Linked DNA regions of Homo sapiens: regions 1, 2 and 4 are each linked to region 3. Evidence: promoter capture Hi-C in human tissues and cell types (Jung and others, 2019). All regions are on one chromosome and are shown on one strand. Each heading gives the region's core, a stretch centred on a gene start or on the middle of the fragment in contact. The rest is flanking DNA. Distances are from core to core; before and after follow the strand shown. Region 1 has its middle 27 kb from the start of LINC02046. Region 2 has its middle 14 kb from the start of LINC02032. Region 3 holds the start of ZIC4 (Zic family zinc finger 4). Region 4 has its middle 160 kb from the start of LINC02032.

The links. The method cuts DNA at HindIII sites, captures the fragments that hold promoters and counts their contacts. A contact is called where the count stands out against the background at its distance.
Region 1: a fragment that was not itself captured here is called in contact with the fragment with the promoter of ZIC4 in region 3 in 2 of the 25 tissues and cell types used here (H1 embryonic stem cells and dorsolateral prefrontal cortex).
Region 2: a fragment that was not itself captured here is called in contact with the fragment with the promoter of ZIC4 in region 3 in 3 of the 25 tissues and cell types used here (H1 embryonic stem cells, dorsolateral prefrontal cortex and thymus).
Region 4: a contact is called between a fragment that was not itself captured here and the fragment with the promoter of ZIC4 in region 3, in 1 of the 25 tissues and cell types used here (hippocampus).

The regions. Positions count from the first base shown.
Region 1 is chr3:148,251,167-148,256,280 of GRCh38, forward strand. No RefSeq gene overlaps it. Among named protein-coding and RNA genes, the nearest start is that of LINC02046, 27 kb to the right of the region's middle. RefSeq lists an enhancer at 5,076-5,114 and a silencer at 5,076-5,114. The HindIII fragment of the contact is 4,295 bases long and covers 1-3,595 here.
Region 2 is chr3:148,089,696-148,094,612 of GRCh38, forward strand. No RefSeq gene overlaps it. Among named protein-coding and RNA genes, the nearest start is that of LINC02032, 14 kb to the left of the region's middle. The HindIII fragment of the contact is 3,232 bases long and covers 243-3,474 here.
Region 3 is chr3:147,404,426-147,409,278 of GRCh38, forward strand. ZIC4 (Zic family zinc finger 4) reads right to left here and starts at 2,118. Exons shown (of 5, transcript NM_032153.6): 1 at 1,938-2,118. RefSeq lists enhancers at 2,934-4,124, 4,547-4,853. The HindIII fragment of the contact is 11,475 bases long and covers 1-4,853 here.
Region 4 is chr3:147,920,338-147,925,682 of GRCh38, forward strand. No RefSeq gene overlaps it. Among named protein-coding and RNA genes, the nearest start is that of LINC02032, 160 kb to the right of the region's middle. The HindIII fragment of the contact is 3,466 bases long and covers 378-3,843 here.

The DNA of each region.
Region 1 (5,114 bases), core at 198-2,697, 850 kb after region 3:
TAGACACTATTGTTCTGACTTCTCAGATTTTAATGCCTATTCAAAGAGTTACAGCAAAACAAAAATCATGGCTTTTATGAGATGACTTATTTGAAAAGGGGTAGCTTTTGTAATTATGATAAAGGAGCACACTCATACAAGAATGGGTTTGTGTGTTTATAGAAAGGAGGAAACAGGTAATAAGTAGGTTAGGTTACTGAAAATGTGAAAGCCTCTCTATGAGATTATTTCCAAGAAAAAACTCTATATTTATTTCTTCATTCAACATATATTTATTGATACCTATTATGTACTGGGCTTATATTAACAAAATATAGTTTTTACTCCCATGAAATGTACATTCTAGGAGGCAGAAACTGGTAATACATGAACATAAATTTATAGTATGTTGGTGGTAATAAGTGCTATAAAGAAAAATAAATCAGGGCAAGGAGTGAGAGTCTATTAAACGGGAAATCAGAGAATGCTTCTCTTGTAAAGTAACATTTGAGAGAGACCCAAATGAAGTGAGGAAGTGAGCCATACAGAAAGCTAGGAATAGAAGCTTTCTAAGTTGCTGGGAATAAGAGCTTTCTAGGCAAGAACATCCCTAAGGCAGGATAATTGCCTCTTTGAGTATAAGAAAGAAGACTAAGGTAGAATGGAGGAGATAAAATCGGGAAATTAGCCAGAATAAGAGGATCATATCTTTTAGACCAAAGTAAGGACTTTGAATTTTATTCTGAGTGAAACAGTAAACCATTCAAATGATTTTAATGGGTCAGGATCACTCTGCCCTTGCTATGGAGAATAAATTAGAAAAGCAAGGGAAAAAGCAGAGAGACTAGATAGGGAAAACTTGCAAATAGCTAGGCAAGAGATGACCTGAATCAGGATGATACCAAAAACGGAGAGAAATATTTGAATCCTGAAAATATTTTTATGTTAGAACCAACAGAATTTATTGATGGTTTGCAAGTTGGGTGTTAATTAAAATTATGTGAAACTTAGGAAATAAGGCAAGAGGTGGATGGCCTTATTGAAAGGATGGCATATCCTTTCAATGTCTTATGGGAACAAAGGCCCATTTAAATGTTATCTCAGTGTAAGAATTTTGGATTAAAGGTACCAGGTTTAGTAAAATTACAGGACAATTTGGAGATGTCTGTCCAATAGATATTCAAATAACCATTGTCTAGTGAAAAAGATAACCCCCAAATTATACTTTATTGCTCTATGGGATACTAACCAGTTTTACATCTAACATAGCAATCCTTTTCTAATATTTATTTCTTAGTTAGCAAGCTTATAAATACACCTTACTGGTTCCCTCTTTAATGTGTCTTTGACATATGTTTATTTTATTTTATACTTGCATGACAGCTATGCTTTCTTTGGAAAATTATACTTTAACATGAGTGAGAGAAAGAAGAAAGGCAAGGATGACACCATGGTTATTGTCTGAGCATTCAAAAGAATGTAGTTGGGAAAGGATGCTTGTGGAGCAGGATGGTGTAGAGGATGAGAATGGAGAGTTTGTTTGTTTGTTTGTTTGTTTATTTATTTATTTATTTATTTATTAGACAGAGTCTTGTTCTGACACCCAGGCTGGAGTGCAGTGGTATGATCTTGGCTCACTGCAACCTCCGCCTCCTCCCGGGTTCAAGCTATTCTTCTGCCTCAGCCTCCCTAGTAGCAGATATTACTGGCGTGCACCATCACACCCGACTGATTTTGTATTTTTAGTAGAGACAGGGTTTCACCATGTTGGTCAGGCTGGTCTTGAACTCCTGACCTCAAGTGATCTGCCCACCTCAGCCTCCCAAAGTGCTGGGATTACAGGCATGAGCCACCGCGCCCAGCCCAGCCATTTACATTTTCATACTGGAGTCATTCATTAGGCAAGTCAAGTTATCAGGCTAGAGGTTACTTTACAAGAAAAGCTTTCTCTGATTTTCTGTTTAATAAACTCCCACCCACACCCTGATTTAGAAAAACAGAACAATGGCTGCAAAGAGATGTGAGTTCAGTGGGAGACAGTATCACATGTTTGCAAACCAGAGACAATTATCATGTAGAGGGGGAAAACAATGCAGGAGTGAAGTTTCTGAGTAGGTTAGAGGAAAACTCAAGTGGAGTTGGCTTCAGATAAAAGGACTAGTAGTTAATACACATAACCAGAGGGATGGCAAAATACAAGGGTCTAGGTGCAGGGCATTTGGCAAACCAAATAATAGCAACAATTGCAAAGTTCTTCTGATTGCTTCTATTTTGTCAGTGAAACAAAAAATAAGTCATTGTCTGATACTCTGGAGAAGGAGGAGGCATCAGAGATTTGAAGTGAAAGGAAGAAGTGTGAAATCATTGTTTAAGGGAAAATGGGAAATGAAATGTCCAGGGAAATATCAAACAGGATGTCTATTAAGTAGCCCTAAAGGTCCCACTTAAGAGTTTTGTGGTCAAGAATTTAATGTGAGATGGTTAATTATGTTATGGTCTCCTCTGGCAATACTCAGCTAAATAGATACAAGCACCATGTAGTTAAAGAATTGGATGTAACTAGAGTTGGGACTGTGTTGGGAAGATATTATTTGGTAAGAGACTAGCAAAGGAATTCATTCAAAGAGGTGTTGCTAAAGGTAGACTATAGAATCCAAGGTTGGTAAAAAGATAGTGACAGTGAAAAGCTCATAGAGATAATGGACTAGAGGTCCTGGTGGTGCAAAAGAATAAAAACCTTATCAAGCAAAAAAAATATGGCTACAATATTAAGTCAATATTTGTAGTCAAATACTGACTTAGGACTGTAAAAAATTAGAGTGCAGCTTTGTATGCTTTTTTCATTCCGACAAAACTTTTTCCATTTAACTCTTCTCTTTTTTTGAGACAGGGTCTTCTACTGTCACCCAGGCTGGAGTCCAGTGGCGCCATCTCAGCTCACTGCAACCTCCACCTCCCAGGTTCAAGGAATTCTGCTGTCTCAGTCTCCCGGGTAGCTGGGATTACAGGTGCCCACCACTATGCCTGGCTAATTTTTGTATTTTTAGTAGAGACTGGGTTTCATCATGTTGGCCAGGCTGGTCTCAAACTCCTAACCTCAAGTGATCGGCCTGCCTCAGCCTCCCAAAGTGTGGGGATTACAGGTGTGAGCCACTGTGCCCGGCCCCTTCATCTCTTCTTAAAGCAGAGCTAACTGAATAGGAAAGGAAATATGTGTGGAAGCGTAGGGATGGGTGCATAAAGGAAAAAAAAAAAAAGAAAGAAAGAAAAGTAAGAAAATCTCCAATTTAAAGGAGTTCCTGAGACCCTACGGGCTCAGAATAAAACAGATCATCCATTGGGGCATAAGAAGAGCGATTTACCTCAAGCAGCATTTAAGTCATGACCATTGCCCCTTCTGGGTGGGCAATGAGACTGTCTTTCCTGTGACTCCCCACAGCACCTAGTACAGTGCTCATTATCTTTAATAGATTATTAACCAACAAGGGCAGAATACAAAGGGAAAATCTTTTGCCAAGGTCATTTTCTTTTTTAAAAAAATTGTACTCCTGCTTCAGTTTGTTAAAGCAAGGGCCAGAAATAGTGTGTAGAATTTCCAATTACAGCACAAGATCACTCTTCTAAACTCATATTCTCACACAATTTCTTTAGAAAGTGATATTTTAGAGATAAGAAAATGAGGTGCATATATTTATGCTATTAAATTAAATAATGTAAGACCTAGGTACAGTAGTTTCACAGAATTTTTCCAACATTGTTATACACAAAATTACCTGCTAGCTAATATTTTAAACCTGATAATTTAAAAACCCCATAATATCACCATTAGAAATTTACTAGTTTATCAGGCAATAAAAATACTTACAAAATCAAAGGCAGAATTAGCCTAAACAGGGTTGTATGTAAAGATGATTTTTTAAGAGACAAGTTTATTTGTCTTTTCCTTTTTTTCAGCATCACTAATACAGTTTTGAAAGTTTATCTTTAAATTAAAAGAAGTGTGAAGGGAAACAAAAATTCCACATCTGATGTTCTAAATTTTAGCTTGCTTTTATTATTTCTACAGAGCAGTATTGTCTAACTAAGAATAGTCTATCAATATTAGAACAAACAAGCTAGTAAAGTGGCCCAGCTCTTTCCCAGGTGGATTCACATCACATGGAATGATTATGTCACAAAGTGTGCTCAGTCCCATATACCTCCCTATCCTTTCTATGAGTTACATGGAAAGCCCCACTTTTGGAGACGGTCTAGGTTCAAATTTTGCCTCAGAGATGTAGGTCAAGGTGAGCTGGATAGATGGCAGTTTTCCAAGGGCCCTCTCTCACATACCATTTGCAAGATATGATCCCCTCCACTGCTAGAGTTCCTCTAGAGGAAGAGCTCTGTGAGATGAGAGCCAAGTCCCTGAAAATGCAAAAAGACAGAAGACCAAATGCTGAAGACCATGTCATGAGCCCTGAATGCTTGAGCAAACAAGAAAGCAAGGATCTGAGTCTGAGCTATAACCACATTCACGTGGAGCCTAGACTAGGGCTCACCAGCGGGTCTTGACAGACTTTAGGTTAGCAATATTGAGCATATGGAAAAAGAAACACATTATAACATGTAAAAATTAGTAAAAAGTATACTTATAATAATGTACTCCTAAAAATGTCCAGAACGGCATTTTATTCTTCTTAGAAAAATAATGTTTATTGAAGTAAAATTAGAAATGGCAAAGAGAAGGAAAAATAATTTAATACCCTGCCAAGAGATACATGCATATTTTCCTAAAAAACTGGAGTTATTGAATAACAATGTTTGATCTTGGTTTTGTCACTTAATATATCTAGAATCCCATTTTAAAGTATTATTCATCCATTAATATATTATGTGTTACCTTAATGCTGAATAAATCAAGGTATTCAGTCCATGTTATTAACACTCTATTGTTAAATGTTTGGGTGGTTTCACTGTTGTCATATGCATCTGCAATAATTTCTGACACGAACTCCCTGCAGAGGTCAAATTTCACTGGCTAAGGACACAGGTCTTCACAAGACTGCCCTTACTCAGACACCACGAGCCACAAATTTGGGGGCCTCCAGGCCACTTTCATTTTAACCAGCTGGCTACAATTTGGAAGTTCTCAC
Region 2 (4,917 bases), core at 609-3,108, 690 kb after region 3:
AGACTCTAGATTTGGAAGACATTTGGAAATCATGTAGTGCAACTTCACAAACAGTGGGGAGACAGCCCTCTAAGTCATCCCCCACCCCAGTGGGTTGCTCTTTCTGGCTCCTTCCAATAAGGGGAAGCTCTCTCTCTCTCTCTTTTTTTTTTTTTGGAATTATGTTTCCTTGAACTGCTTCAGATGGATTTTTGGGTGAGCCAAAGTTTCCTTTCTCTGGCTTCCTAAGTCTCTCTTTACAGCTATATGGCTTCAATACAAGGAAGGTGGAACAAAAAAATTTTCAGAGCCATCGGTCATGCCACCATTACGAAAATCTAATGTGATGTTTCACCAACAGCACACATTCAATAGTTACAAATGAATATTAATACATAAAGTTAAGATTGTTCTGCATCTAGGGCTTATTTGTTTAAAGGTAATTGTAATAATGTCATTTTCCTCCTTCACCTTGCCTAAAGAGTCCTGTTAATGGAAGGACAGGATAACAATCCCTAAGAATGTCAAATCCCTATTCAATCACTATTCTGCTTCTTCTTCCCTTTGCTTCAAAATCTAACCATATCTCCTTATGCTCACCAACAGATGGGGCCAAATTAGGGTTTTTTTGGGAGGTGGTGGTGAGTGCATACATACGTTTGAATCATTCACAGTGGTGAAAGGGAGAAGGAAACTCAAAGCTTCAAGCTCATTTTATCCTTTAAAATGACATTGAGGCCACCAGAGTTGGCTGAGCCCTGTGCAGCCCCAGTCAGGACCTGCTGAAGGTAGCTGTGCTTCTGTTTTCTGTCGTTTATAAAAAATTATCTTCTTGTCAAGATATCCTCAGGTCATTATTTAGTTTAATGAACATTTCAGAATGCCTAGTAGATGTTAGGCATTTCATCAAGTACTGGGAATAAAAAGTGAATGAGACATAAACCTCAACCTGAAGTTGTTCACAACCCATTGAAAAAGAAGAACATATAAACAAATACTTTTGATTTAAAAAAAAGACCTTAAATAGAGATTAGCACACGAGGTTATCTACAGGAACAGCACATGACTATCACAGATGGGGTTAAATGAGGGGTTCACAGGGTAGTTGATAATTTAGTACAGCAACTTGAGTGTAGTCCAAGGACATTAGGAGGAAACACATCTGTAAAGGTCTGATGGTATTTAAGAATAGAATGCATGCTGGAGGAATAGCAAATGATCAGCATGGCTGAAGCAACATAGAGAATGCTGATAGAAATTTGATTAGGTTGAAAAGGTTTATTTTAAGGTTATTAACATAAAGTAATAGTTTCCATTAGCAACAAGTTATTTTAGTCAGACTATAAATATACATTTTTTAAAAAATAGGTTGAGTTAAACAAAAGAGCTTGTTGAATGTTTTTTCTAGGAGTATACTTTGCCCAAGAAAATGTTTATTTACATGTGAAAGAGGATAATGCTAGAGGATCAGCTAATTGGTAACACATATATTACATACAAATTTTAGCTAAATAGATGAATTTTGTGATGTTTTTAATAGTAATAAAAAATTCCATCCTGTTTACCATAAATAGAGGGTTAGTAAAATGAATTTTTAATTATTCATACAATGGAATACTATGGATTCAGTAAAATAAGGATCTGGAAAAACATTGGATTCTATAGAACTGATAGTCATTACATAGACTGTTGGAAGAATAAAAGTAATAAAAGCAGATTCCATAATAAACAGTTAGATCACAACATTTTTTTTGTTTTTTTGTTTTTTTTTTTGAGATAGAGTCTCGCTCTGTCGCCCAGGCTGGAGTGTAATGGTCCAACCTCAGCTCGCCGCAACCTCTTCCTCCCCTCCCAGGTTCAAGAAATTCTCCTGCCTCAGCCTCCCGAGTAGCTGGGATTACAGGTGCACACCACCACACCCAGCTCATTTTTGTATTTTTAGTAGAGACAAGGTTTTACCATGTTGGCCAGGCTGGTCTCAAACTCCTGACCTCAGGTGATCCGCCTGCCTCGGCCTCCCAAAGTGCTGGGATTACAGGTGTGAGCCACCGTGCCCAGCTGGATCTCAATTTTTAAAAAATATACATTTATTTATATCAAAAATACCTTAAAATATGTATTAAAAGTATATTGGTGGTGGTCATCTCAGGGTAGTAGGATTGGGGATGATCTGAACTTTCTTATCTTTAGAGTATCTGTTTAATTTTTTTCTACAATAAATATAAAGTTTTTTAATATAAGAAAAAAATAATGGTTAACACTCAAGGGATAAAATAAACTCTCTAGTTGTAATAAAGACCGTTTTCAAACAGTGATTCCCAGTTCAGTCTTCAAAATGTAGATAAAGCAGTAGAATAATGTCAAGGTGTTTCAATTAGTCTTTGGACCCAACACTCAATGTGGCTGTCCTTATGGTGGTCTGACTAGGTATTATTCGGTCCATGTAATACCATAAGGACAATTCTGTCCAGAAAGTAGCTTCTGTGGTTAGATAAATTTGGCCAACAAGAAAGCATTGGTTGAAGTCCTCTGTAATCTTCTAACACTTATTGCATGTGTATAGTTTTAGGTACAACTTATTGTTCAATTATTTACTTTGGTTTAATAATTATAAATGATAAAAACATATACTTTATGCATTTATCACTGTAGCAATTATCTCAATGGATTCTATCATCCATGCTTTACTTGGAAGACTTGCCAAACATTTTTCTGATTTATTTTACTTTATTTTGTTTAGATTGAAAATTTTACTATTTCCACTGAGCAAATAAACAACAAATAGTTGTTTTTTGTCATTTAAGAGAAAATTATCTTCTTGTCAAGATGTCCTCAGGTCATCAGATAAATTCGAATGTGTTTTATAGTGATTTTGAAATATTATAATCAAAATAGTCCCTCTTTTAAACAGATTTAAATATATATGTGTGTGTGTGTGTGTGTGTGTATATATATATATATATATATTTGATTTTTAAATGGAATCCTTGCATCTACTTCCATGACAATTTTTGAAAAATAAGAATTTTCAAATATGATTTATCATATTCCACACGTGTCTCAAAAATGAGCATCAGTACTTGATAGAGCAAGTACTATTAAAATGTTACTTCACTTCTGAGTGCTTTTTTGGACATTTATCAAAAGGGCAGTCATAAATCATCATTATATTCCTTTTTAAGCAAAAAGAAGAAGCAATACATACAGTTTGTACACCAGCAGTTTCATCCTCTCTTCATGTTGTGGCAGATTAATATCAGCTTAGCCCAAACATCCAAAGTTATGCTGTTGGCAATGTAGCCATCTGTTTTTAATGAATATCTGGGGTCCATTTTTCAGTTAAGCTTCTCTTATTGTGTGTGTATGTTGCATTTTCAGCGCTATCTGCATAATTGCTTAAAGATTTTACTGCAAAATTAATATCCTTGCTGTGAACAAGGCGAAAACCAGGATGACAGAGCCTGAGATGAGGTGAAAAGCAAATCCAATTTTTCCTTGCACCATAGAAACCTCGTCAGGACTAGCTTTATCTGGTAATCCACATTTAAACTTTAACCTGTAGGGGGGCTCTTTGTGTTAGATAATGTAAGCATAAAAGGAGGCTGAATCGCTAATCAGATTAATCATATTTTGTAAGACTCAAAAGCTTCATTAAAAGGAACTGGTATCCAAGTTACACATTGTTGTTGTTGTTGTTGTTGGCAGAATAAGAGTTTATCATTAAAAAAAAAAAAGAATGACATGAAAATGCTCAAATGTCTGCAACTTTTAGTGAACCTATAGCAAACAAGACTAAAAGACCAAATCAAATCCTAATTCATAAAATTACTTTACATCCCAACAGAGTCAACACATAGATTACTTCAGTTTCTTCATATTTTAATCTTAGAAGACAATATTTTATAGAGGTTGTGACAGCTATTATAATTTTTCTGTATTTTGAGGAGTAATCTTCCTTTAATATCTTTATAATATATATATTTATAAATTATATATTATATATGAATTATATATAAATGTAACACATAAATGTATAAAGATACCAGTTGATGATTTATTATTCTAAACCATTTCTCAAAAGCCATTTCTCTCATTTTGTAAGTTGGTTGCTTAAAGGAAGAAAATTTTTTGGAAATAGAGAACTTTCTCAAGAGTAACATGGAAAAGAATGATTTTGTAGGTCCAATATTTTATAAAATATGAATCAAAGAAATGCAGTAATAAATTTGTTGAAAACGAGGGAAAGAAAAAATATTATTTTTGCAAGCAAAGCAAAACTTAAAAAAAAAATATGTAGTTGATAGTCTATAGCATGACTAGGTAATTGTGGGGAAAATGCAACTGTGGGGAAAATGCAATTCTGTGTATAACTTTATGCACACCAAAATCTCCCTTTTGAAAACTCAGCCCTTATACTTTAAATCAACAAATAGTTTTCAGCATATGGTATGTTGACAAATGCTTCTTAACAAAACTGCTCCAATAATAATCTTGGTGAAAGAGCATGCCAAGTAATAGCTATCAAAAATTGTTATTCTGATATCTACCATGTAATTCTGATATCTAGATAGACGCATAAAAACATTACATCAGTTCATTTTTATTAGTACAATAGATATCATTCTAAGGAAAGATCAATTTATAAGATTATATATTAACAGCTGTGGAACTCTAGATCTTAAAATCAACTATACAAAATTGCTAATCAAAATACATAGGTCTTTATAACCAAGTCATTTCAGATGAGGAAACTCAACCAAATGAAATAACAGTATGGTTTGTTAACAACAACAACAAAACAAATGAGAAATAGAAGCAATATCAACAGCTTGCTTAGCATGTGATGATACTACATATAATATCTAAATTAATGAATATTTTAAATTGTATTGTAAAAGATCCAAGTTTACTAACAAATCTGTAGCTTAAATATTAGCA
Region 3 (4,853 bases), core at 868-3,367:
GGGTAAACATCTCCTTTAGTTCAAACTCTGACACCACTTAGCAAACAAGCCAGTCATCTTGCTGAAAGAGAGGTGAGAGAATTTGGGAGCAATCCTGGGGCCCGTGGACCTGAGGTCCCAAACAACCACGGAATGTAGAAACTCAGTTTCGTTTTCCCCAAATGCTTGCTCCCCACATCAACCACGGCCTCCTAATTACCAGTCCATAGCACATCCTGGAGACTTTTTGGAATCTGCCCTCCTGGCCCCACCTTGAGAAGAGGAACGGGTGCCAGGGAGCTCCAGTGATTGATAGTGCCGGAGGAGAGCCAAGAAGGTGGGACAGTGGGTAGGTGCAAAAAGCACCATTTTTATTTGGGGGAGCCTCGGAAGCTGCAAATTGTGGGGCCGACCTAGCCGGCGCAGGACTACCCAAGGTCAGAGGTCAGCTGCAGCTAGAGACTTCAGTTCCCGAGCTGCTCCTTACTGACTAGCCGGCAGGCGCGGGAAAGGCATGCCCACCTCTCCGCTGCAACTTGTCCCTGGCGGGCGCAGAGCAAAAACCCTGAAAGCTGGCAGGGAGCTCTGAGCCAGAGAGGAAACTGGCCCCGGCCTTTGCCCGCTGCCTGATTTACTCATCTGCACCCTGCACCTTTCTGGCTCCCCTCCATTCGACCCTCAAGCGCCAGGAGTTTGCTGAGGCTGGGTTGTGCAGGGGCCTTTACTCATTCTCCTGTTCTCTAGAGGGAGAAGCTTGGGTTTCCCAGCTCGGGGCTGAAGTAAGTGTGGGCAGCATCCGGGTGCCCAGAATAGAGTTTGTATCAGTAGATCAGGCTGGGCATTTAGCCCTCCCTTTGAATCACCCCTCCCCCAACCTGCAGGCGGCTGAGACAGGAGAAAAAAGAGCAGCATGCAGTGGTGTGGGTCGCTGCGAGGACAATACTGTCGGAAAGCGGGGAAAACATGACCTTGGAATCCAAAGGGAGTTTCCTGAAGACGGTGACGGCCGAAGTGCAACCCTCCAAAAGCCCCTCCGCTTTCCTAAGACTTTGACATGGGCCATTCATCAACCCCAACTTTCAGATCCAACCTTTGAGCCAGTCCTAGCTTTCTTTCACAGCTCAGCTCTATTCCCTCCTCATTGGCCCCTAATTTCCAATGCCCCTGGGTCTAGGCTAGGGGCCAGAATCCTAGGAGCTGCGGCCTGCTCCCCAGAGAGCTAGTTGCTGCTCTTGTTCGCATTGGAGATAAAGAAAGCCAAGTCCCGAACCCACTGCTGGCCGCGCGCAGAGAGCAGATCCCAGCAGTCAGCTTCCTGAGGCAGGACCAGGGTGAGGGAGGGCAAGGAGCCGCCCTGAGGTGGACTCAGGCGGCATCTGCCGTCAGGTTGGGGCGGAGAAGTTCCATCGTCTTGCTGCCATCTGGGCTAACTTGGCGCTTTGACCCTGGAGAGGGGAAGCAGAGACTCTCCTAGCCACCCCCTTGGGGGCAGAGCAGAGATACCTCCTGTAAAGGCCCCCTCCCGGCACCCGCCTTGCTCATTTTTCGCGAGGGAAGCTCTGGGCCACGACTTCCATTCTTGTGCCCACGGTGGGGCACCCAGGCAATTCACAAGGAGAGAAGGGAAGGCAGGCAGGCAACAAACTGCTCCTGGTTCCTGTGCCAGTGGGAGCCCCATTTGTACCCCTTTTCCCTCCTCCTGGGAAGAAGGGATGGACTCATCCTCTGCGTTGCCCCTTTGCGGAAGGGCCCCCTCCTCCCCTTAGTGTCAGTGGGGTGGGGCCTTTATCCACGGTTGGGGGAGGGGGGTAGGATGAAGGAGGAGATGGGGCAGAAAGACTGGCTGGGCCTCTTCCCCCACTGGGGTTTGGGTGCCAGTGGTCCCCTTGAGGGTACTTGCTACCCGGTCGCTGGAGGTACAGTTCTCATCTGTCTGCCCCCTGGACTCACGCACTTACCCCACTCCACCTGTTGCCAGGATCGCCTCATTTCTGCACATCATTTCGGGGTGGCTGAGAGGGGACCACAAACCCCTCCAAGCCTCTCTTTTGTGGTTCCAGCGAGGCGGTCATCCTTCACTTCTCCTTTTCCAGCTTTCAGGAAGCAGTTAGGGAATGTATGATGAAGCAGAAATGAGCCGTCAGGATGATATTTTAATGGCTTATATGTCACGTTGGTGCATGTGGCTTTGAACTGGAGCCGTTCGCGTTTCCTGCAGAGAGCGCCGCAAATCCCACTTGATAACTTCTACAACCCACAACTTTTTTTTTTCTCACATTCACTCTTACCCTGTATATTTGGATGTGTTTCCTAAAAATACCCTCTTGTCAACGTCCCCGTTGGATTTTCCACGGACTGGAGAGGAGAAGACTGACTTTTCTTTTTTGAAGAATTATTTTCCCTCTCCCCCTCCCAACAGCTACCCTTCCCCCCTTAGGTCCCCTCCCTTGTTGTGTGTGTGTGTGTGCGCCCGCGTGTGTTTCCTGAAAGGCGGGCGAGGTGGGTTCAATATCTGTTCTCCCTAGTGAGAGGAATACAGCCTCTAGAGAAAACTTCTCCATACAGATGAGGTTTTCTAAACTCCAGGGGAAGCAGGATCCAACTTCCCCTTGTAGGTAAAAAGACTTAGTGCCTCCGATATATCTTTTTTTTTTCCAACCAAGTGTACAATAATTTTTAAAGATACCTCGGCCCTTTCTTTACCTCCACTCCTCATTCCATTCCACTCAAAGTTGGTGGGAAATGCTGGGCTGCTAGACTCAGACTTGTTGATGGGAACAGAACAATTAATTTTTTTTCCGAATTTATATTTCCCGGCACAAGCACAAATGCTCAGCCAGGTCCCTTCAGGCACCGGGAAATCATCCCGGATACCCAAGCCGACTTTTGAGCAAGCACAGCCCATGGAAAGGGCAGTCCCGCCGGCCAGCCCCAAGCGAGAATCTAGTTGGTGAGAAGACCAGAAAACCAGAAAGGCGAGGAGCGGCGGACGCTGACCCTGCCTTCCTCCAGCCCGTGCAGTCAGCGCTGGCGTCAGGGCAAAAAATATATTCATTTTCATTTTCCTCTCGCTGGGGCACGGTGAGTTTCCTAACCGGGCCGCCTATGAAAGGATGAGTTGAGGTTTCTTTGTTTGGAAAAAGAGTTTAGGGCTTTGATTCAGCTGCAAAGAAGCCAAATGAAGTTAGAAACAAAGGGTAAATTGAAGGATTCCGACTCTTGGCTTTTTGTGTTTTCCTTACTAGAAAATAATTAGACCTAATGAATATGCAGACGCTTCAGCTAAAGCCTCGGCCAGGACTGCTGGGTTTTAAACAGAGCTGCGGAGAAATGCAACCTTCGTCCCCACAACCCCCCGCATCCGCGTGCATTTTTTGAAATGCATAAATGTTGCTCGGCTTAATTGATTGAGTCACAGGGATTTTTTTTTCCTGCTTTTAAGTACCATACTCCCCTACCTTTCAACAATCATTTTAATATATAGTCAATGGCTCTTTGTGGAAGGGACAAAAAGAAACTACGCGCAGTTGTTGAATAGACTTTGCGCTAGGCAAAGACAGGTTAATCGAGGGCCGCATCGCGAAAACAAGCGAGTGTTGTATGTTTGCACTGAATCCAAATGTCTGCATTTTCCTAACTAAATCAAAGGGAGTGTTATTTCTTTTTCTGCTCACTCATCTGAAGGTAAGTAAATTTTCTCTGGCGATCAAAAGCCTGGTCGGCAACAAAGACCGCGCCCGCTTTTTCCACCGTCCTGGTGTGGCGAGTTGCGGAATTTCAATAACTGTGACAAGGGTGACTGATTTGTGAACTAGAAAAGGTTTGAATGTCACAAAATTTACATTGGTCCTATCTATTGGGGATTTAAATACCGAAAAAGTATTCGGGGATCTCTAGGGAGCTTTGGGCAGCCCAAGGGAACAATAGCGCGTTGGGAAATTTACAGTTTTACCTGAATGAAAGGGGCCCAAGTAGGGAACAGGAGTGAGGAGAGACAGGGTTAGCGGGGGCAGTCGAAGGAGACAACGGAAAGGCAGAAAACAGAAAAATAACGCAAGAGAGAGAAAAAGTAAAGGAAACTGGCAACAACGTTTCAAATTTGCCATTAAAAAATTCAAACCTCAATAACCTGGGAACTTAAGCGCTTTCATCCACCTGTGTGTGTGAGTGTGTGTGTGTGTGTGTTTTCGGGGAGGGGGGTGCGGTGGTGCCGGAAGTCTGATTAGATAAAAGCGAGAAATACAGAGGCTGCCGGTTACACTGAGAAATTACATTTTTTTGTAAAGAGAGCATAGTGCCCGTGTGCTCCCAAGATCTTAAATTATAAACAGGAGGGGGACAAAGCAAGAGGGAAACAAACTTCAAAAGGAGCAAATAACAAAAGCCTCTTTTGCTGCTCTTGAAGGGAGGGGGGAAGGGGGAAGAAAGAAAAGAAAGTTGCTGAATCGGGACATTCTGGAAGTGCCTTTGCTGTGTTTACTAGCCCCATCCCCGCCTGCTGCACCCGGAGACGTCTGAAGTCTCTAATCGCTCAGCGAAAAGTTGGTTTCGGGAAGGGCAGCGCCGGGGTGCGGGAGGGCAAAGGAGGAAGAGGAATGCATATGACTGTGAGAAGGAAAAGTAATCGTGGCAAAAAAAAAAAAAAAAAAAAAAAAAGAAAGAAAGAAAAGAAAAAAGAAAAAAAATTTCCGTGAGAAGAGGGAAAAAATTTGGCTAAAAAAAAAGTTGCTACTCCTGGCAGCCCTGGTTTGTCAAAAGGGGATGTCAAGCGCTTTACAATACCTGGGATTGATGAGGCGGGCGGGCCAATGAGCTGCGCGCGGCGCCTCGGCGCGCCCTCCGTTGGCGCGGCGGCTGAGGGCGGGGGGAATGCG
Region 4 (5,345 bases), core at 861-3,360, 520 kb after region 3:
AACTAATTCTGTGGAAGATGAGAGTAAACACACAACTAAAAGGCTAGAGTGTGTGCACAAGGTGAGTAGCACTTTGGGAAGTTGTAGACAGATACATATGACCTTAGGTTGTATTTAAACAGGAATGCCTGACAATTTCCTACTTAAAAGTGATCAAGGGACAAAATTGCTCCACTTTTTCACGTTTCTTGTGTATATACAGTACTTACCTTATCTTATAGAAAGTTAAAAAAAAAAGGAAAGAAATTTAAGGAGCAATGTGGTGCTATTAGCCTGTGTGAAAATCTCAAGAGGACTTTTATCAATCACAAGGAAGTACATTTTATATTTTCTCTCAGAGGTTGTCTTTGTTCTCCATAATTATTATCACAGCTCCATTATATCTGGGTCTCTGATGTGAAGTACTTTTTTTCAAAAGAATAATGCTCACCTTTCTATAACTTTAAAAACATATTTAAAAGAATTTATATTGTATTTTAAACATTTTAAAGACATTGACATGTTTTAACATGATTAAAAACACACAAGTAAAATGTTTATGATGTAAACACGTGCTTTCATTTATGCATCTAAAGTAGTTTTGTGTTCTAAGAATTTATTCATTAATCTGTAAGACCACAAGAGTAAATTATAACATATAGTGTTCAGAAATGAAAATGTAGCAATGTTACAACTGTTCATTTTGTGCTAATGTGAATGTTCAAATAGATCCTGATGCAAAAAAAAAATGTTCAAAAGAAAGAAGTCATGTAAATACCAAGATGGGTTGAAAATCAGGAATCTTTAACAGAAGGCACGAGTAGTGAATCATTTCAGTTTTGTGTGAAATTGTTTTAGTTACAGATGCCAAGAGAAAAGCAAATGACTGCAAAACAGAGAGGGAAGGGTTCCTACTGTTGTTTAACAGACATGTGCTAGTTCTTCCTCTGTTAGACAAAAACAGTCACAGAAACTATGGAGCTGGGATGGCAGCCATATTTTTTTCAAAAAGTCTGTGGTTGTAGTTTGCAGTAAGTGAGAAGCTGAATGAAAAAATAGATCTGGCTGAAGATTTTTACTCAGAGGTGACAGTCGATATCTGAAGAAGTAAAGAGAAGTAAACTAGTTTATCTAATTAAAGCTTTTGATAACGTATATGGCTCACTTACTAATAACTAACCTGGGATTTACTGTTTGTGAAGTGTTTCACATTAAAATATTTCTAAAGAAAGTACTTGAACATGAACACTCAATTAGAATATTGTATCGAGCACTTAAAATTTACCATATGTGTTTTTTTCTAAAGCATGTTCTCTCCACTTCATTAAAAATGAAACAAAAAAACCAACACATAACATGACAACAACAGAAAACCTCACAATAAAAAACTGACTTTTAGTAACTAATAGAGAAAGAGACTCTAGGCCCAGTTGGATGAAACAGACTGACTTGAGAGCAACCATATTTTAAGACTGTAAGCTTAAATCTAAGAACCTTAAAGTTGGATTTGTTCAACTTCACAAAATGTCCCAGCTGCCTCAGTGTCCCCATATAATTCCAGTATTCTGTAGCAATTGGACAAAAAAAGATAGGCAGTAAAATAGTTAATTATAGCCATTTCTTTTTGCTGTATTAGGCAATTGACCATACATTTTATGTTGTCTTTTGATATTTAAACTGGTCTCTCTACCAGTTATGAAGATAAAGAAAACTCAATAGGTAGGTTAAAGAAATATATTTAGTGTGGCTCTGTTGAGCTGTGGTCCGAAAGTCAGAGACTTTTTTTCAATTAAAAAAAGGAAGACTTATGATTTTGGAATCATCATACCAAGCCTGATTTTCCTACCTCTATGTGGCACCAAAACAATATTTTTTTTTATTGTTTTTTTTTTTTAGTTGGAGTCTCGCTCTTGTCACCCAGGCTGGAGTGCAATGACATGATCTTGGCTCACTGCAACCTCTGTCTCCCGGGTTCAGGCAATTCTCCTACCTCAGCCTCCCAAGTAGCTGGAATTACAGGTGCCCGTCACCATGTCCAGTTGCTTTTTTGTGTTTTTAGTTCAGAGGGGGTTTCACCATGTTGGCCAGGCTGACCTCAGGTAACCTTCCCCCTCAGCCTCCCAAAGTGCTGGGATTACAGGTATGAGCCACAGTGTGCGGCCACGAAAACAAATTTTTACAATGTTTAATTCACGATTTTCCCCCATCAGAAGTTTCCCCCATCTGAATCTTTCCCAGCTGATTTAGAGATTCTGACTATCCATCTCCTTTTTCAAAGTTTGGAAGTAGTCATTAATATCTCCAGTACATCTCATTGTAAACACATGTTTACATGCAACTTGAAGGTTAATTCCTCAGAAGTAGCTTCTCCCTAGAATACTCTACTGGAAATGATAATGTACAATATAGTAAAAAACTCAGATAAATGTTTTAAAAGTAGGAAATAATATTAGGATTATGATTTTTGTAGATTGTAGTTTCTGCTTCTTAATTGTTAGTGTTTTAGTGTATCTTAGTTCAGGCTACTATCAGAGAATACCTGAGATGGCTTAAAAAGCAAAAGTATATCTCTAATAGTTCTGAAGGTGCCAGCAGATCTGGTGTCTACTGAGGACATACTTCCTGGTTTGCAGACAACTATCTTCTTGTACCATTACATGGCTGAGAGAAAAATCATCTTCCTCATGCTTCTTCTTATAAGTGCATTAATCCCATCAAGAGGAGTCCATCCTTATGACCTCCTACCTCCCAAAGTCCCCACCTCCTAAAACTGTCACCTTGGAGTTAGGATTTCAGCATGTGACTTTTGGGAGGACACAGACATTAGGTCCACAGCACAGGGGATTTGGGAGAAACACTCACTGCAAACTTCAACCTTAATAGCCATAGCACATTAATTCCAACTTTGCTTTAAGAATGCTATGGAAATTTTGCTTATAACTATGGACTGTTGTTTGTAGAGATCATAAAGTTGAAGTTATTTATATAAGAAATGCATACATATATACTTATATGTTATTTTCTGTAGACCATCTAAGATGTGGGAAAGGCTGTATTAAAACAGATTTTAAAGACCATGTTGGGGCAGCTGAGAGCATATCTCAGAAATTTATCTTCCATATTAAGAAGAAAATGCCTGTCAAGTTAGGGCTTGGATGGGCAGGGGACCCCATTCACAAAGAAGATGCCCTTTTTGAGAGGCTGACATGAGAAGCTGTGACTTCGCATGTCACAGCGAGACACCCCAAGAGGCAGAGCTGCACAAACAGCTTTTACATGAAAGTTCTGTGAGAATGGCATCTTTACTCCTGGCTGATTTGCCCAACATTTCAGAATATCCAGGACCTGTTCTCCATCCTACATTCACCTTCCTCCACAAAAATTAAGGCAGAAACTTTTGGAGGGAGACAGAATGAACCAGCCAACCATACCCTTTACTTTATTTATTTTTTGATACAGAGTCTCACTCAGTTGCCCAGGCTGGAGTGTAGTGGCCCGATCTTGGCTCACTATAACCTCTGCCTCCTGGATTCAAGTGATTCTCCTGCCTCATCCTCTCAAGTAGCTGGGATTACAGGCGCCTGCCCCCTTTCTGGCTAATTTTTGTATTTTTAGTACAGACAGGGTTTCACCATGTTGGCTAGGCTGATCTCGAACTCCTGACCTCATGTGATCCACCTGCCTCGGCCTCCCAAAGTGCTGGGATTACAGGCGTGAGCCATTGTGCCCAGCCATACTCCTTACTTTTCCTCTGCTTGCTGTCTCCTGTTTGTTATCTATGTGGAAAGGGACAAGAGAAATAGACACAGAAAGTGGCTTAGAGATAACTTAGATTTTTCTAACTGCCCTAGAGTTAAAGCAATTTACTAAAGATTAAATCTAAGAAACCTCAATTAAGGCTTTGAAATTCATACCTAATGCAGTATAAAATGGGTAGATTTTTAGTAAGGTATGATGCTGAGGAATTTCTTATTGCCCAAGGAGAACAAAGTTCATGTGAATCAAGCTAAGACCAAACAGAAAACTCTATTAATAACCTAGCTTCAAATATTAAAATATTCATAAAAGTTTCACAAAGAACAACATAGCTGGGGTAGGTCACAGATCTCATGAGTTTTATAAAGGATACTCAAGGTTTTTTAACAGCTTGAAACATTGTGCCACTTGATAAAAATCTTAAAAAGCAGAGAATTTTTATTTTACTTTTGTTGGTCCCATGATACTGTTTTGAAAATCAACAGCAATCAATTTATTTTATGAGTCAGGGTAGGCCTATAATACAAACCAGTAATTTGAGTAATTTTTGCAAGTCAACCAAAATTATGAAAATAAATTTCTTCTTAACCAAAAGATACATTTGCTCCAATCATCTGTGTATTTTAAACTGAACCTATGAAGTAGAAAGTTCTAAAAAGCAACCCTGAAAATTTGATGGTGCATTTGTTGTTGCTATATAATAATCTACCCCCAAATTAAGTAGCTTAAAACAATCATTTTATTTACTTCATATTTCTATGTGTCATTAATTTAGCTGGGCTCAGTTGTGCAATTCTTTTGCTGGTCTTGGCTTCTCTCAAGCAACTGAGGCCAATTAATGGGTCTGCTGGTAGATAGAAGATGTGTTTAGCTGGGTCAGCTGCTCCTGTGGTCTCTGACCATCTGGCAGACGAACTTGAGCTCTCCACATAGAGTCTCATGGTTCTAAAATGCAGTGAGAAGTGCAAGCTCCAATGCACCATAACTTTCAAGTCTCTACTTGTATCTTATTTGCTACATCCCATTGGCAAGGCAAGTCACAAAGCCAAGTACAGATTTAATTTTTTTAATTTTTATATATATATGTGAGTGTGTATATATATATGTGTGTGTGTATATATGTGTGTGTATATATATTTTTATATATATTTTTATATATATATATATATATATCTTTTTGGGTGGCAGCCCCCAGAATCACAGCAGATTCAGAGAGACTCCCCCAAGTACAGATTTAAGAATGGAGAGATAGATTTCACCTACTGGAGAAGGAGCTGGGAGCTGGAAAATAATGCTACCTTTTTTTTTTTTCAGTTTACAACACAAAACTTCATTTAAGCAAAACTGGATTGAAAGCAGGATATGTGTAAGACACTTCTATACAAAACAAAAAAATTGAATAAGACATCTTTGTCCTCAGGAAATCTGCAGGCTAGGAAAAGAGGTGCATATCTAAACACTTAATCATATCATGAGACTGAAAAATTATTTAGTGCTGTATCTAAGTACAAGCTATATTTTGTGGGAGCCCAAAGCCTCATTTATTCTGACTGTGGTAATTAAAGAAAATTTTGTGTAAGAAGTAACAAATTACTAGGCCTAAGTAGATG